2 separate regions of the Homo sapiens genome follow, and region 1 is linked to region 2. The links are contacts of gene promoters, found by promoter capture Hi-C in blood cells and fetal thymus (Javierre and others, 2016). All regions are on one chromosome and are shown on one strand. Each heading gives the region's core, a stretch centred on a gene start or on the middle of the fragment in contact. The rest is flanking DNA. Distances are from core to core; before and after follow the strand shown. Region 1 overlaps NUDCD2 (NudC domain containing 2). Region 2 holds the start of FAM200C (family with sequence similarity 200 member C).

Region 1 (3,051 bases), core at 1-2,500, 3.1 Mb after region 2:
ACGGTGAAACCCCACCTCTACTAAAAATACAAAAAAATTAGCCGTGCGTGGTGGCGGGAGCCTACAGTCCCAGCTACTCGGGAGGCTGAGGCAGGAGACTGGCGGGAATCCGGGAGGCGGAGCTTGCAGTCAGCAGAGATCGCACCACTCCATCTCAGAAAAAAAAAAAAAAAAAGAACTGCTCTAACTGCTATTTTGAGAAGACTATGGCAAGAGTAAAAGTGAGAAGACCAATTAGAACGTTATTAGAGTAATCAGGCAAGACATTAGAGGTGGTCCAGATCAGAATGGTGGTAGAGTTGGTGGTGAAAAGTGGCCAAATTCTAAATATATTTCGAAGGTAGCATCAGTAAGATTTCCTAATACATTGGATAGGGTATGAGAAAGATGTAAGAATCAAAGATGAGTCCCAATTTTTTTTGACCTGAACTACTAGTTTTCATCAACTGAGATGAAAAGGCTACAGGTAAAAACAAATATGGAAGGATGTTAGGGTGTTCAACTTGGACATGTTGAGCTTAATATACATTAGATAGCCAGGTGGAGATGTTGAATAGGCAACCGGGTATGCAGGTCCTAAATTCAGAAAAAAAGTCTAGGCTAGAGATATACATCTGGAAATCATTATCATAAAGACGTACATTATCAAGTGCTGCAATCTAGCAATTCCTCTCCTAGATATTTATCTTAAAGATATCTTAGAACACTTGAGTAGTTTCACAGAGATGAAAGCACAGCTTTCTTTAAAATAGAGAAAAATGAAGAAATCTAAATCATATCAAAGGCAAACAGCCAAATAATGATGACACATCCAAACTACAGAATCCTCTGAAGCAGTTAAAAAGAATGAGTTTTATACCTATGTATTAGTAGGGAAAGAGACCCACAGCATATTATTAAATAAAAAAGCAACAAGAAGAACAATACACACAGTGTGATCCTCCATTTATGCTAAAAAACAAAACAAAACAAGCAATAGCCAACATATGAGATGAAAATGAGATAGATGCATGGAATGGGGAGAATGGTGGTGAAGGGGCCTTTCACTTTTTACACTAGGTAAGTCTATATTGATTCAACTATAGTAAGAGTTTATTCATGCATTACTGATGTACATAAAAGTAAGCTTAAACTCACAAATCACAGCAATACAAATAAATTCCTCTCAAGAAAATCTTCCGAAAAATCAAATCCATACAAGAAAGGCCATTTTTCTAACAATTCACTTTAAAAATTCTTCTAGAAAATGTTTGTAACTTTTCATAATGACATTTGAGTTTTAATTTCAAATATTTATTTGATGATTTTTATATATTTAATTACACATACTCATACACTTCATCTGACTTACTTCTTTTTGGAATCTCTCTAATGTAAGCTTTCTCTGCATTTGGTCTTGCACCCAAGGATCCGCTGCATATTCAGATTCTAGTAGAGAAGTCCAACAATTTGCTGCATCTCTCTTTGTCTTTGTAAGAACAATACGAACCATTTTTCTGTCCTCTAAAAAAAAAACACACACACACACACGCACAAATAAATTAGAGTTCTTCATCAAGTTGTTTTTTTTTTTTTTGAGACAGTATCACTCTCACCCAGGCTGGAGTGCAGCGGCTTGATCTCGGCTCACTGAAACCTCCGCCCCCCGGGTTCAAGTGATTCTCCTGCCTCAGCCTCCCGACTAGCTGGGAATACAGGCATGCGCCACCATGCCCGGCTAACTTTTGTATTTTTAGTATAAACGGGGTTTTGCCATGTTGGCCAGGGTGGTCTCAAGAAGTTCTTCATTAAATTTTATATTTCCAAAAACAACTAACTAATTTTTTCTCCCCCCACTAGGTAACTTTGACATACAACGGTTTTCAACACATTTCTATTGCTTTATCTTTCAAAGCTGCAAAGACAAAAAAGACCTAATACAAAAGAGGAAAAGATATCAAGACAAAATTATTTTAATTTGATGAATTATAGTAATTACCCTTACCCAAAGTCCATGTTCCCTCATCAGCTATTGTAGAATCAAAGAGTTTGCCCTGAAAAATAAACATATAAGGTGCTAAAAATACAGAATTTAATTTTTATAAAGTTTTCATGATTAAGATTTACCTACTTTCCTACCTAATCCACATCTTATACCACCACTTCACCATGACATTTATAGGTGCACAACCCTAAATTTTCTCCCAGCAGGTAAAATGGAAACTAGTTTACACTGCAAGGGATATTTACTATGGCAAAGAACACAGAGCTCTCTAAAGAAAGATCAGGGCTCCTTAATTTTTAGAAGATACAGTAATACTGACCACTGGCCAAATGTGAAATTAATATCTGAAATGCTTTAATTCTACCAATTTAAATTAACCACAAGAAGGGATCTCCTGCTAAAACTAAAAAATGTTGTCTTTTTTTTTTTTTTTTTTTTTTTTTTTGAGACAGAGTTTCGCTCTGTCGCCCAGGCTGCAGTGGCACGATCTGGCTCACTGCAACCTCCACCTCCAGGGTTCAAGCGATTCTCCTGCCTCAACCTCCCAAGTAGCTAGGACTACAGGCGCCCGCCACCACGCCCGGCTAATTTTTGTATTTTTAGTAGAGATGGGGTTTCCCCGTGTTAGCCAGGCTGGTCTCGAACTCCTGACCTTGTGATCCGCCCGCCTAGGCCTTCCAAAGTGCCAGGATTACAGGCATGAGCTACCGCACCCGGCAAAATGTTGTTTTTAAAGTAAACTTTTAAAAACGTTTTAATCTTTTTGTTGGGCAATCGGCATTAAAAAAACTTTACGTATTCCAGATTTGATAGATTAGTTGTGACTAACTGTTCACAAACTCATGTTTTTTAAAAAAATAAACAAAATATAAATTTAAAAGAGACTGCACCAGGCCCAGTAGCTCAGGCCTGTAATCCCAGGACTTTGGAGGCCAACGTGGATTGCTTGACCCCATGGGTTTGAGGCTGCTGTGAGCTACAATCTCACCCCTGCACCCCAGCATGGGAGACAGGGACCCTGTCTCAATAAATATATATTTTTTTTTAAAGAGAGAATGCCTAAACTC
Region 2 (3,722 bases), core at 756-3,255:
CAGGCCAACATAGTGAAACTCTGTCTCTACTAAAAATACAAAAATTAGCTGGGTGTGGTGGCGCATGCCTGTAGTCCCATCTACTCGGGAGGCTGAGGCAGGAGAATCGCTTGAACCCAGGGGGCAGAGGTTGCTGTGAGCTGAGATCATTGCAGTGAGCTGAGATCACGCCACTGCACTCCAGCCTGGGTGACACAGCCAGACTCTGTCTCAAAAAAAGGCTGGGTACGGTGGCTCATGTCCATAATCCCAGCACTTTGGGAGGCCGAGGAAGGCGGATCACCTGAGGTCAGGAGTTTGAGACTGGCCCTGCCAACTTGGCGAAACCTCGTCTCTACTAAAAATACAAAAATTAGCTGTGCATGGTGATCCCAGCTACTGGAGAGGCTGATGCAGGAGAATCGCTTGATCTGGGAGGCAGAGGTTGCAGTGAGCCGAGATGATGCCACTGCGCTCTCCAGACTGGGTGACGGAGTGAGACTCTGTCTCAAAAACAAAACAAACTGGAAATCATTACAAGATCTGTTAAGAGTCCATTCCTATCCACCTTGACTATGTCTCTCAAGTATATTTTAATTTAAAATTTATCTGTTTTGAACAGTTTTAGGAAAATCAATTTAAAGTATTCTTCTCCATAACCCTCAAAAAGGGAGAACAGGTGGCAAGAATTTTCAAGGGCCTCAAAGATGAACTTACTGCCCAAGAGGCTTGTGTTTTAGAACCTCACAATTTGCACTTGCGCTTTTGTGGTATTTAGGAATTACAATATCCTAAAAAACGTAAACATTAAAAAGCATCATGATAAGGAGATATTGTTAAACAGGCATGATAATGGTATTGTGGTTGTGTTTTTAAAAAGTCCTCATTTGTTAGATACAGACAATTATTTACAAGTGAAATAAGATGTCTGGGATTCCTTTGAAATACGTACTTCAGCACACTCACAAACATGCACAAAGCGGGGTGGAGATAAAAGAAATGACTGGCCTTAAGTTGGTAACTCTTGAAGCTGGATGATGGGTATACATCATTACACCGTTCTATTTTAATGTATTTTGGAAACTTTCCATAATAAAAAGATAAAAAGCATTATCTTAAGATAGATATCACTCATTTTAAGCATGATTCTTTTGAGAGATTATCTTCAGATGCTTAATGAAAGATCTGATATAACAAAGTAAAATGTTTTTGCAAGTTTATGAAGGGTAGATATGAAAAAGTATTACAAATGAGAAAAATCAGTTAAAAGTGAACACTCACAAAACAAATATTTAGGGAATGCTAATATATATATATTCCAGCAGTGAAAACACCAAAGTGCAGCTGTAAACCTAAAACTCCAAACCAAATACAATTCAACTTCTTTCTAGCCACTGCGTATGCAAGATCATGATAGGCGCAGGTGTCTGGGGAGGCAGAGCATTTAACCATTACATTTTACAGTTAAAATCAATAGCCAGGAGAATGGGGGCAGGAACTTGGTGGCTGGGCAGACGCTCCAGGGGCAAACGCCTGGGATCGTGGCTTTGTCACTTACAGGATGGGACCTTTCCAAGCCTCAGTTCCTCCAGAGGGGATAACAGTACCTACCTTACAGGGTTGTTAGGAGATTTAATTATAAGAATGCATGCAAATAACAAGCAGCTCTTAACTGATAGGACCTGATGGTGTTACTGTTAAGGACGGAGATTTTTACAGCCTCCCGGGTGAGATAAGAACGCCAGCTGCTAGGAAAAAAAAAAAAAAGACTCAGCGCGGTCTCCGCCCGCCCGTCTCCAAGCCTGAGGCGCAGGCCTATGGGATGCACGGGCTTCTTTTAGGCGCCCGTTTCAGGCTCCAGTCCCACTCTCCGCTCAGCCTAGGGCCCAGCCTCTGGCCGTCGGAACCAGTAGAGACGGCGGTTCCTCGGGTCCAACCCCCGGGCAGGAATCTGCGGTGCGCCTGGAGAGAGAAGCATCCGCAACAACCTCCGCCTCAGCCAGGCCCGGGTTCCATCCGGGTTCTCCAGGGTGCTTCCCGCCCGCAAACTGGGAGAGGCGTCTCCCACACGCAGGCGCAGTAGCAAAGGGCTGTGGGATGGGCTGGCTGGCTTGAGTATTGAGCATGCGCGCTAGCCCTTCCCAATTTTTTTTTTAAGATTGTGTACGTGGAACAAGAAATCGTTTGTTTATTGTGTCTGCCAGAGAGGATGAACTGTACAATTTCAGGAATGGAAGGGGCTGTAAACTCCACATAGTTCTTTTTAACATGCAGAGCACTTAAACTTTTATATTGTGTCGGGCTTTGAGCTTGGAGATAAAACGCCTGATAATTGCCATGTTCCATGTGGAATAAATGAGAGAAAAAGAGAAGGAAGCTCATTGTAATTTCAGATTAGACATTTCAGCAGTGGAGGATGAGCTTCCATAGCTTGTGTACTGTTGCCTATGCAAGCTGATCCCACTTTCCGTAAGTGGGAGCATAGGGATGAATTTCCATGTCATCATCATATATCTGAAATATTTTTATTTTAAATTCTTTCAACAACATGATTTCAAAGAAATAAACCCATATTAGAGAGGTTTTAGAGAAAAATCCCAAGTAGAAACTAGGAAACGTTGTTGAAAGAAACCGGAATATAGCCCTTTCCTGTTTGGGGGTCTTTCCAGAATTCTTATAAACTTAATGAGTTTACTCATTTTTGTACAATCTTGTTAGAAGCATTCCATAAGACTAGTGTGTGTGAGGAGTGGTGGGGCGTCAACGAATGTGGGCCAGATACATCATTTTCAGGTGTTAAGGGTGAGCCTGGTAAATATTGACGGGCTGCTGAAGTTTTTTGTGGATGGAAGAAACTGCTAAAGACCAGCCTTGTTGGTCAAGAAATTAGGGCCTTCAATACTAGAGAAAGGGGTAGGCTTCAGAATCCCACAGCTAGCTTCATGTCCTGACTCCAACGGTTAGGATTTGTGCAGGTTACTTGGAGTTAATTCCATGTGCTTTTTGTAAAACTTACATATCATCCATTACCCCATGAAATTCTTTTGAGGAAGGAGATAACATTATGACAATTACAGTACATAATTCTCGCACTCAAAAGGCAGCTATTATTGAGATAATAAAATCAAAGCTCAATCTGAGTAATGTCCTAGGCATTATGTTTTTTTCTTTTTTTTTTTTTTTTTTTTTTGAGACAGGGTCTCATTCTGTTGCCCAGGCTGGAGAGCAGTGGCGCAATCTCAGCTCACTGTAACTTCTTGAACCGGGTTCAAGCAATTCTCATGCCTCAGCCTCCTGAGTAGCTGGGATTATAGGCGTGTGCCACCATGCCCAGCTAATTTTCGTATTTTTCATAGAGACAGGGCTCTGCTATGTTGGCCAGGCTGGCTAGGCATTACTTTTCCAAAATAAAACAGAAGACATGATTCTGGATATTACAGAATTCTTCCTAAATCTAAGTAAACCAGGCCTCATAGAAGAGGGAAAGAGGTCCAGAAAGGTTAGGTGACAAGATGCTGAAATTTTCTTAAACTCACAGAAGCTAATCCAGGTTCCCCTCCCTGTCCCATAAACAACTTTTCTGCCAAATATTAGAAATAATGCTACAAACCACTCACAGTTAAGTATTGTCATTTATGTATCTTTAACAAAAGATAAAATACAAAACGGACACAACATCAGCCTTTATGTTGAACCACCCTGTTTAGGTAGGAAAATGAACATTGTTTTTCATTCTTAAAGTA

What was found. The method cuts DNA at HindIII sites, captures the fragments that hold promoters and counts their contacts. A CHiCAGO score of 5 or more calls a contact.
Region 1: a contact is called between a fragment that was not itself captured here and the fragment with the promoter of FAM200C in region 2, in 12 of 17 cell types (activated CD4 T cells, total CD4 T cells, M0 macrophages and 9 more). The highest score is 12.1, in activated CD4 T cells.

What each region holds. Positions count from the first base shown.
Region 1 is chr5:163,455,578-163,458,628 of GRCh38, forward strand. It overlaps NUDCD2 (NudC domain containing 2), which reads right to left. Exons shown (of 4, transcript NM_145266.6): 2 at 1,985-2,033; 3 at 1,352-1,503. It also overlaps a transcript of CCNG1 not described here. Among named protein-coding and RNA genes, the nearest start is that of NUDCD2, 3.0 kb to the right of the region's middle. The HindIII fragment of the contact is 252 bases long and covers 1,125-1,376 here.
Region 2 is chr5:160,398,049-160,401,770 of GRCh38, forward strand. It overlaps FAM200C (family with sequence similarity 200 member C), which reads right to left and starts at 2,006. Exons shown (of 2, transcript NM_022090.5): 1 at 1,591-2,006. It overlaps SLU7 (spliceosome associated SLU7), which reads right to left. Exons shown (of 16, transcript NM_006425.5): 16 at 3,593-3,722. RefSeq lists enhancers at 148-647, 967-1,652, 1,546-1,695. The HindIII fragment of the contact is 7,568 bases long and covers 1-3,722 here.